2 separate regions of the Homo sapiens genome follow, and region 2 is linked to region 1. The links are contacts of gene promoters, found by promoter capture Hi-C in human tissues and cell types (Jung and others, 2019). All regions are on one chromosome and are shown on one strand. Each heading gives the region's core, a stretch centred on a gene start or on the middle of the fragment in contact. The rest is flanking DNA. Distances are from core to core; before and after follow the strand shown.

What was found. The method cuts DNA at HindIII sites, captures the fragments that hold promoters and counts their contacts. A contact is called where the count stands out against the background at its distance.
Region 2: a contact is called between a fragment that was not itself captured here and the fragment with the promoter of EXOSC10 in region 1, in 1 of the 25 tissues and cell types used here (H1 embryonic stem cells).

The regions. Positions count from the first base shown.
Region 1 is chr1:11,097,153-11,102,002 of GRCh38, forward strand. EXOSC10 (exosome component 10) reads right to left here and starts at 2,717. Exons shown (of 25, transcript NM_001001998.3): 1 at 2,569-2,717; 2 at 868-1,004. The coding sequence starts at 2,679. It overlaps EXOSC10-AS1 (EXOSC10 antisense RNA 1), which reads left to right and starts at 2,523. Exons shown (of 2, transcript NR_135062.1): 1 at 2,523-2,662; 2 at 4,649-4,850. RefSeq lists enhancers at 1,883-2,445, 2,097-2,156, 2,446-3,006 and a silencer at 2,058-2,259. The HindIII fragment of the contact is 4,033 bases long and covers 1-3,891 here.
Region 2 is chr1:11,608,574-11,613,423 of GRCh38, forward strand. It overlaps LINC01647 (long intergenic non-protein coding RNA 1647), which reads left to right and starts at 958. Exons shown (of 3, transcript NR_104624.1): 1 at 958-1,540; 2 at 3,270-3,405; 3 at 4,217-4,782. The HindIII fragment of the contact is 5,030 bases long and covers 182-4,850 here.

The sequences.
Region 1 (4,850 bases), core at 1,467-3,966:
CGAGCCGAGATCACGCCACTGCACTTCAGCCTGGGCGACAGAGCAAGACTCCGTACTCCCCCCCAACAAAAAAAAAAAAGCTGGTCGTGGTGGTGTACACCTATAATCCCAGCTACTCGGGAGGCTGAGGCAGGAGAATCGCTTGAACCTGGGAGGCGCAGGTTGCAGTGAGCCGAGATTGAGCCAATGCACTCCAGCCTGGGTGATGGAGCGAGACTCCATCTCAAAAAAAATAAAAATAAAAATAAAAATACCTGCTACTCTACAAGTTGTGGGAAAGAATCTTGGATCTGGCAAGGCGCGGTGGCTCACGCCTGTAATCCCAGCACTTTGGGAGGCCGAGGCAGGTGGATCACGAGGTCAGGAGATCGAGACCATCCTGGCTAACATGTTGAAACCCTGTCTCTACTAAAAATACAAAAAATTAGCTGGGCGTGTTGACGGGCACCTGTAGTCCCAGCTACTCAGGAGGCTGAGGCAGGAGAATAGCGTGAACCTGGGAGGCGGAGCTTGCAGTGAGCCGAGATCATGCCACCGCACTCCAGCCTGGGCAATAGAGCGAGACTCCGTCTCAAAAAAAAAAAAGAATCTTGGCTCTAAGTGTTCACGTCCCATTTAATTAAAAAAGATTTGTACAAAAGTCAATATATTTTTTCAGTACAAAAGTCAATACATTTTTTAAAGGCTAAACTAAAAATATACCAAGTAATATTTCCCTAATCAAAATCCATTGCTTCAATTTTCACATTTTATAGCTCTTCATACCACAGAAAATGTTTAAGGAAAAATAAATTTCAGGAAAAATTTATCTACTTCTTTGTTTTCATTTCTTTTCACTAACACAAGAAAACAAAGTACAGTACTTACCACTGAAGCAACCTGTCTCCCTGTGTTTCGCAAAATGCTTGGAAGCCAGGAAAACTTCGGTAAAAATCATACTCATCGCCAAACTGTGGTAGGCCCCCAGATGCCTTGGTGACTGCCACCACGGACCCAAGAGCAAACTGTCAAAAACAAGAAAAGATGGCATGTTTACACAGGGATCCCCATTCATTTGGTATGTCATTTTTTTGATCTATCGTATACAAGGTATCTACTCTTCATCCATCAAAAAAAGCACTCATTTAGTGCCAAACCCCAATCTAATCTAGGCCCTGAGAATACAATACTGAACAGGAAACCAAGTTTGGAGCTTATATTCTTGGGAGAGTTGAGAGACAGAATACATACGTATATAATCTGATTAATATTCACAAATACCTGGGGTTGAATCTTGACTCTGCTACGTATTAACTGAGATCTTGGACAAGTGATTGCTTTATTTGGACTTTAGTGTTCTCCTCTGAGAAACAGGAAAAATAAAAAGGGCCTGCACCACAGAGTTTTTGTGAGGACAGAATGAATAAGCTAATAAAAGCACTTAGGACAGTTCTTGGCACATAAGCGTTATTATTACGACTCAAGTTCAGATCCAAGAGCTTTCTACAGGAATTTGTTTTTGTGTTTTCATCTGGATGAGCATCTAAAAACAATACAAGCTTATCCTAGATCCTTGGACGACAAATTTATAACAGCTACTATCTAAAACTGGATTTGTGTTTATTGTTCAGTTAGTGTCAAGTGGTTCTCTATTTTAACTGTTGTGAGGTAACGAAAAAAAGCCGTGAAGTGACATAAATGATGGCTGATCATGTGAAGGCCTAAAACGTCATTGTGAGTTTTGTGAATAAACATTTCCCAAGAAAAAAGCAGAGAAAGGAGGTGGGAAATTAAGTCACGGAGGGGAACATGGTAGCTTATGAGCATGACCGCCACACAACCAGGACCACAGTTAGTGGTCCAGGAACTATTGAGAGCCATGTTAATGAATCAATAGCATTAGCTAACAGCAAATTAGATAAGATACAACGTTAGTGGAATTTCTGTAAATTTATAGGGTTAATTTACAAATTATTTTAGTTTCATTGCTTTGTAAGAGCTATGCACACCTTAAGCCTAGTTGTACGTTTGCTCATATTTAAGCTAAGTTATACAAAGATCTTAAGTGAACGCCCTGTATACCTTCCAGGAGTTACTAATAAACGTGCAATGGGGCTTTAACAGGTGACATTTAACTCAGGGTTAAAAATTATGTAGGACTGGACTTCAGAAACAGAGGAAGAGAAGGGCCATACTGGCCGCGGGAGGAGACAACTCCAGGCAAGTGTGGGGAGCGCGAAGAAGCCGAGCCCCTGCGGAGAGCTGGTCGGGTGGCTAGGGCGTGGCGAGCGCGACGTCGCAAGGGCTAGGGACGTCTGGGTGGCAAGGAAGCCTTTCCCAGGATGCGAGACGGCTTTCCACATTTGGGCCTCCATGGACTTAGGCTCGCAAGCGGGACGCCCCTCAGTGTCCGTTTCCGAGGCCCCATCCCCGGAGGGTGCAGGAGAGTCTGCGCCCAGCGCGGACAGGGGCCCCGCGACCCTCGCTCGGGCTCCACTACGGCGGGCGGGCATTGGCTGCCCAGAGGGCCCAGTCGGCTTCCGGCGGCCGCGGGCGACTCCTGGTACCCCCGAGGCCCCGCGAACTCACCTTCACAAAGCTGTCGGCGTCCGGGAAGCCTGGCAGCACCATCTCTCCGTCGGATTTGGTTGCGCTGGTCGCCGACAGGACCCTGGGCTCCCGGGTACTGGGTGGCGCCATTTTTTCAGCCTGCACGGCTCGTCTCGCGAGAGCTTGTCGGCCGAGGAGACGGGACGCGTGCGCACCACGCATGCGCCAGGTCGAAGCGGCGGGCGGGGCGTCTGATTATAGTGTGGGGAGCCTGCGATTGGGGTGGGGCGCCTGCGATTAGGTTGGGAAGCCTGCGTTTAGGGTGGGGCACCTGCGATTAGGTTGGGAAGCCTGCGATTAGGTTGGGAAGCCTGCGATTAGGGTGGCACTTTCGAGCGCTCTGGTGTGAATTTCACGTTCTTTTACCTCATATTGTATCATCCCAACAACCCTGTGATCTAGGGTGCGGCCTGGAGGACCTGACTATCACATATATTTTTGACACGAGGTTTGCCCAATCTGGTTTCGAACTCTTGGGCTCAAGAGATCCTCCCACCTTAGCCTGCGAAGTAGCAGGGACCCCAGGCGAGGGCCACGATCCCCGCTTATCCTCGTGTTTATTTAAAAATTTAAAAAACAAACAAACCGGGATTACCGGGAGTGGTGGTGCGCATCTGTAGTCCCAGCTGCTCGGGAGGCTGAGGTGGGATGGTTGCTTGAGCCGAGGAGGTGGAGGCTCCACTGCACTCCAGCCGGGGTGACAGGATGAAACCCTGTCTCAAAAATTTCTTTTTAAGGTTATGTTTTTGAGGCTGGGCGCCGTGACTCACACCTGTAATCCCAGCACTTTAGGAGGCCGAGGCGGGTGGATCACCTGAGGTCGGGAGTTGGAGACCAGCCTGGCCAACATGGTGAAACTCTGTCTATACTAAAAACACAAAAATTAGTCGGGCGTGGTGGCACATGCCTGTAATCCCAGCTACTCGGGAGGCTGAGGCTTGAGCCCGGGAGGTGGAGGTTACAGTGAGCCGAGATCGAACCACTGCATTCCAGCCTGGGCAACAGAGTGAGACCTTGTCACAAACAAACAAAAAAAACCATGTTTTTGGGACAAAGTTTCACTCTTGCTCTCCCAAAGTGCTGGGATTACAGATACGAGTCATCAGCGTGCAGCCTATTTTTATTTTTATTTTTTTTGAGATGGAGTCTCACTCTGTTGCCCAGGCTGGAGTGCAGTGACGCAATCTTGGCTCACTGCAACCTCCCGCCTCCCGGGTTCAACGAATTCTCTTGCCTCAGCCTCCCGAGTAGCTGGGATTACAGGCGTGCACCACCACGCTCGGCTAATTTTTTTCGTATTTTTAGTAGAAACGGGGTTTCACCATATTGGCCAGGCTGGTCTCGAACTCCTCACCTTGTGATCCTCCCGCCTCGACCTCCCAGAGTGCTGGGATTACAGGCGGAGCCACCGTGCCTGCCCTGTTTATTTTTTTTTTTTGAGACAGAGTCTCACTCTGCTGCCCAGGCTGGAGTGCAGTGGTGCAATCTCAGCTCACTGCAACCTCCGCTTCCTAGGTTCAAGTAGCTGGGATTACAGGCGTGTGCCACAATGCCCGGCTAATTTTTTTTTTTTTTTTGTATTTTTAGTAGAGATGGGGTTTCACCATGTTGGCCAGGCTGGTCTTGAACTCCTGACCTCAAGTGATCCACCTGCTTTGGCCTCCCGAAGTGCTGGGATTACAGGTGTGCGCCACCAGCGCCTGGCTTATTTTTTTTAGACTGCATCTTACCAACCTGGTCTCGAACTCCTGGGCTGAAGCCGTCCTCCCACCTCACTGGGATTACAGGCAGGAACCACTGTGCCCGGCCCAGCCTCATATTTAAAGTCACCTCCTCCCAAGCTCTGGCTGGTTCTGTGTTCCCCTCACCCATTTGGTCTTGACTCCTGTAATTAATTACACCTCCCCTGCCCCCTGGATCTATCTTTTCCCTCTCTATTGGTTCATTCCTAACAGCCTACAAGTACACTGACATCTTTCCCAACTAAAAGAGAAAAGGAAAAAACACTGGCTCCCACATCTCCTTCCAACTGCCATCATCTCTCTCTTGCCCTTTACAGGTAAGCTCCTGAAGAAAGCGTCTAGCTCCAACTGTGCTTCCTCCCTCCAGTACCCTCTGAACTCCTCCAAGCAGACGTTGTTTCCTGCAGACATCGCTGGAACCATTCTGGTTAACACAGAGTGGGAACTCAGTACACATTTGTGAAGTGAACTCCTGGAAGAGCTCTTGTGAGGGAGGCACCGAATTATCAGGCAGCTCAA
Region 2 (4,850 bases), core at 1,447-3,946, 510 kb after region 1:
GAGGTGACAGCGTGCTGGCAGTCCTCACAGCCCTCGCTCGCTTGCTCTCGGCGCCTCCTCTGCCTGGATTCCCACTTTGGCGGCACTTGAGGAGCCCTTCAGCCCACCGCTGCACTGTGGGAGCCCCTTTCTGGGCTGGCCAAGGCCGGAGCCGGCTCCCTCAGCTTGCAGGGAGGTGTGGAAGGAGAGGCGCGAGCGAGAACCCGGGCTGCGCGTGGCGCTTGCGGGCCAGCTGGAGTTCCGGGTGGGCATGGGCTTGGCGGGCCCCGCACTCGGAGCAGCAGGCCGGCCCTGCCGGCCCCGGGCAATGAGGGGCTTAGCACCCGGGCCAGCGGCTGTGGAGGGTGTACTGGGTCCCCCAGCAGTGCCAGCCCACCGTGGGGCAGGGCTCGGGACCTGCAGCCCTCCATGCCTGAGCCTTCCCCCACCTCCGTGGGTTCCTGTGCAGCCCGAGCCTCCCCCACGAGCGCCGCCCCCTGCTCCATGGCGCCCAGTCCCATCGACCACCCAAGGGCTGAGGAGTGCGAGCGCATGGTGCGGGACTGGCAGGCAGCTCCACCTGCAGCCCCGGTGTGGGACCCACTGGGTGTAGCCAGCTGGGCTCCTGAGTCTGGTGGGGAGGAGGAGAACCTTTATGTCTAGCTCAGGGATTGTAAATACACCAATCAGCATCCTGTGTCTAGCTCAGGGTTTGTGAATGCACCGATCGACACTCTGTATCTAGCTACTCTGGTGGGGCCTTGGAGAACCTTTGTGTGGACACTCTGTATCTAGCTAATCTGGTGGGGACGTGGAGAACCTTTATGTCTAGCTCAGGGATTGTAAATGCACCAATCAGTGCCCTGTCAAAACAGACCACTCGGCTCTACCAATCAGCAGGATGTGGGTGGGGCCAGATAAGAGAATAAAAGCAGGCTGCCCGAGCCAGCAGTGGCAACCCGCTCGGGTCCCCTTCCACACTGTGGAAGCTTTGTTCTTTTGCTCTTTGTAATAAATCTTGCTACTGCTTACTTTTTGGGTCCACACTGGTTTTATGAGCTGTAACACTCACCACGAAGGTCTGCAGGTTCACTCCTGAGCCAGCGAGACCACGAGCCCACCGGGAGGAACGAACAACTCCAGACGTGCTGCCTTAAGAGCTGTAACACTCACCGTGAAGGTCTGCAGCTTCACTCCTGAACCAGCGAGGCCACGAACCCACCAGAAGGAAGAAACTCCGAACACATCTGAACATCAGAAGGAACAAACTCCAGACGCGCCACCTTAAGAGCTGTAACATTCACCGCAAGGGTCCGCGGCTTCATTCTTGAAGTCAGTGAGACCAAAAACCCACCAGTTGCGGACACAGTTGTTGTCACAGCCCGGCCTGCCCCAACCTGCCTCAGAGGAAGCATCGGAGACACTCCACCAGCTTCTCCCATGGCTTCCCTCATCCTGGGGCCAAGGCAGCATCTGGTACAGAGCTGAGGCAGGGGAGAGATATCCTTGGAGCCAACATCCATGTGTTTAACCTGGATCCTCTGTGCCTGAGCAACTCAGGGTGGGTACATAGGAGAGGGCCAAAAAGTGTGGCCTGCAGTCAAGCAGGGGGGTACCAGAGCAGACTCGGGGAAAGGGGATTGAAATCAGTTGGAAAAGTTAAAGCAATTTAAGGAAAAGCAAATATCAGGGCTTAATCAAGTGCTAAATTGAATATAATCCACTGCCACAGAGGGTTGACAGCTGTGGACACAGCCAGTCCAAGCGGGTGAACAGCAGGGAGGCCTGGGCGCTCAGGAAGGTAGCCCTGTGTGTTTCAGGGCACAGGAAACGCAGCAGCGTAGGGCAAAGGCACTGATGGGAGGACCTGAGGGACCCAGGAGGGAGCAGGACACCCTTGAAAGAGCTACCCAGGTTCCCTGGGGTCTTTTGTGAGCCTGGTCCCTGCAGGGACCCCCAGGAAGATGAATCCATTGTTCTAGCGTTTTCACCCCTGTGCCTCCTCATCTTTGGGGTAAGACCTTGGCTCTAGAAGGCCCCTGTCACGATGCACACTTCCTACCAAGAGGGAGAGTGTGCAGGCAATAGATTAGCTGCCCCCCCAACACCCCCAAGAGACCGGAACCCTGAAGAACCTGGGGTGACGGGCACCACTGTGAGGGGCATGTTGCCACCACAGACCAAACATAAGCCTGCGCCTCCAGCCCAAAGGAGACCTGCGTTCTAGGCACCAGCCCCTCCGCACTCCCACTCCTAACCCTCACTCCCACTCTCCTCCTCACTCCCACCCTCTCCTCCCATGGCTGTTTGAAGTCAGTCACACACAGGCCAAAGCCACTTTGAGAATCATACTGTGTGTGACTTATACCCTCTCATGACCCACCCTTGAGGCTCTACTACTGGGAAATCAGCCAGGTCCCTGACCCAGCAGCTCTGAAGACCAGGGAGGGAGGAGGCACCTGGCCGGTTATTGGGCATTTAACAGCAGTGCTTGGCACAGGGATGGCCTGGGAGGCTCTGCCTTCCTGAGGAACAGAAGAGACCCAATCCTAGCCCTGGGCTCTGACCCTCCAGTGGAAATTGTTGCCAAGAGAAAATCTCAACCCATCACTTCCTAGCTGCAAGATGCTGGGAAAATTACTGCATCTTTCTGAAGCTCAGTGTTTCTATCTAAAAAATGGGGATTAAAAAATACATATAAGCACCTAAAGAGGAGAATCCACGTCAAGTGTTTGGAATACTGCCTGGCACATCATGAGTCTTCGTTGCATGTTGTTGTTATTGCTGCTGCTATTATTAAAGCCTAGGAGAAGCTGGCCTCTCCTCTCGCCAGACTCTGCCTGGATAACTTCATAGCAGCTTCTGGCTGGAGGAAGCTGACTGTTTGGAAACAGACAGAGACAGGTTCAATCCCAGCGACACTATTACTAATTAAATGACCTTGAATGACCTTGGGGAAGTTGCTTAAATTCTCCATGCCTCAGTTCCCCATTTATGAAATCAGCATAGTAACGGTACCTATCTTCCAGAATTACCTGGCTCAAAGGAAGTGTTGACTGTTGAATTAAATGAATAAAGAAATGAATGCTGGTATGCCAGTCAGGGGCTTTTGGTCACGAGCCACAAAAGCCCAACCAAGCTAGTTCAAGGGGAAGGGCATCTAGCAGCTCTGGTAATGGAAAAGGCCAGGTGTGATAGCACTGGCTTCAGACACAGCTGAATCCAGGGACTAAAGCCTATCCTTTGACCTCTTAGTGCTCTCTCTCTGTCTCTGTCTCTTCTGCACACAGCTTCTTCCATGTGGCAGGGGCGGGGTGAGGCCACAGACAGCTCCAGCTCACATCAACCCAGCTAATGGCTTCACAGGAAAGAGGGAAGCAAAATCCCAGAGAAGTCTGATTGGCCCGGCCTGGATCTCATGGCTGTGTAAGTAGGGAGGGCTGCAGGGATGCAACCGTCCCCACAGCCAAATGGAGTGACGGGGGGATGTCTCTCCAGGGGACGGGGTTCTGTTACCAGAAGGGGAAGAAATGAGACTGGGCAGGTACAAACGGTATGGCTATATCAGGGGTTCCCAGCAGAGGGCCTGGGCAGCTAGCCAGGGTGGGGCCACAGCCTGTGAGCACAGAGGAGAGAGAAGAAGACAGGGGAAGGAAGTAGAGGGGGAATAAGGGAAAGGGGTAGGGCCTGGACCACCTGGGCTAAACCTCTGAGCTAAGCATCTATATGGGCCCCCAAAACACACACATCCACTGTGTAACAACCACCCTGTTTGTGTGAAGCCAACCCCACGATAGCCCCAAACCCTCCTGCCAAGAGGTAACCCATGCCCCTCGCCACAGCAATTGGTTTAGATAGTGAGCTGATCAGTTTGTGTCATTCCTCTGGCCATACATCTTGGCTCTGAAGTAGGGGGGCCAGTCAGCCCTCCTTCAGGCTGAGGACTTTTGCTGGGATTCTAGGACACAGACATCTCTCTCCTTTTGGACTAGGAGGTACGGCTGGAACTATGCAGCCTTTCTGCCACCATGAGGGAAGCCCTCTTCTAACCAAAACTAACATCAGAAATAGAAAAGACTGGAGAGATAGGAAAATAATTGGGCCTTGTTGATACCAGCTGCTGAGTCAAATAACCCTGGAGACTGCCTTAGCCCTGTACTCCCAGTAACACCTGCTGATAAAGCCCTGGTGTGGCTGAAGCCACTTTGAGCTGAGTTTTTCTATTACATTTTTGCAGGGGCAATGGAAAAGCTGAGGGAACTGGAGAACAGCTGCTGTCCTCTCCCTGCGCACATCTGTTCTGCCTCATGCCAAAGGGAGACAATGGCTAAAGGGGGCCTGTACTGGTCAGGCCCTGCAGAGAAACAGAACACACAGGTTGTGTATGCATGTATAGGTAGGTAGGGAGACAGAGAGTGGGGAGAGAGAGAGGTTCGAGAAATTGGCTCATGTGATTACAGAGGCTGGCAAGTCCAAAATTTGCAGGGTGGGTGATACGGTTTGGCTGTGTCCCCCCACCAAATCTCATCTTGAATTGTAGCTCCTGTAATTCCCACATGTCATGGGAGGGACCCCATGGGAGGTAATTGACTCATGGGGCTGAGTCTTTCCCATGCTGTTCTCATGATAGTGAATAAGTCTCAGGAGATCTGATGGTTTTATAAAAGGGAGTTCCCTGCCCAAGCTCCCTCTTGCCTGCTGCCATGGAAGACGTGCCTTTGCTCCTTTGCCTTCCACCGTGATTGTGAGGCCTCCCCAGCCTCGTGGAACTGTCAGTCCATTAAACCTCTTTTTCTTTATAAATGACCCAGTCTCAGGTATGTTTTTATTAGTAGTGTGAGAACAGACGAATACAGTGGGCCAGCAGGTTG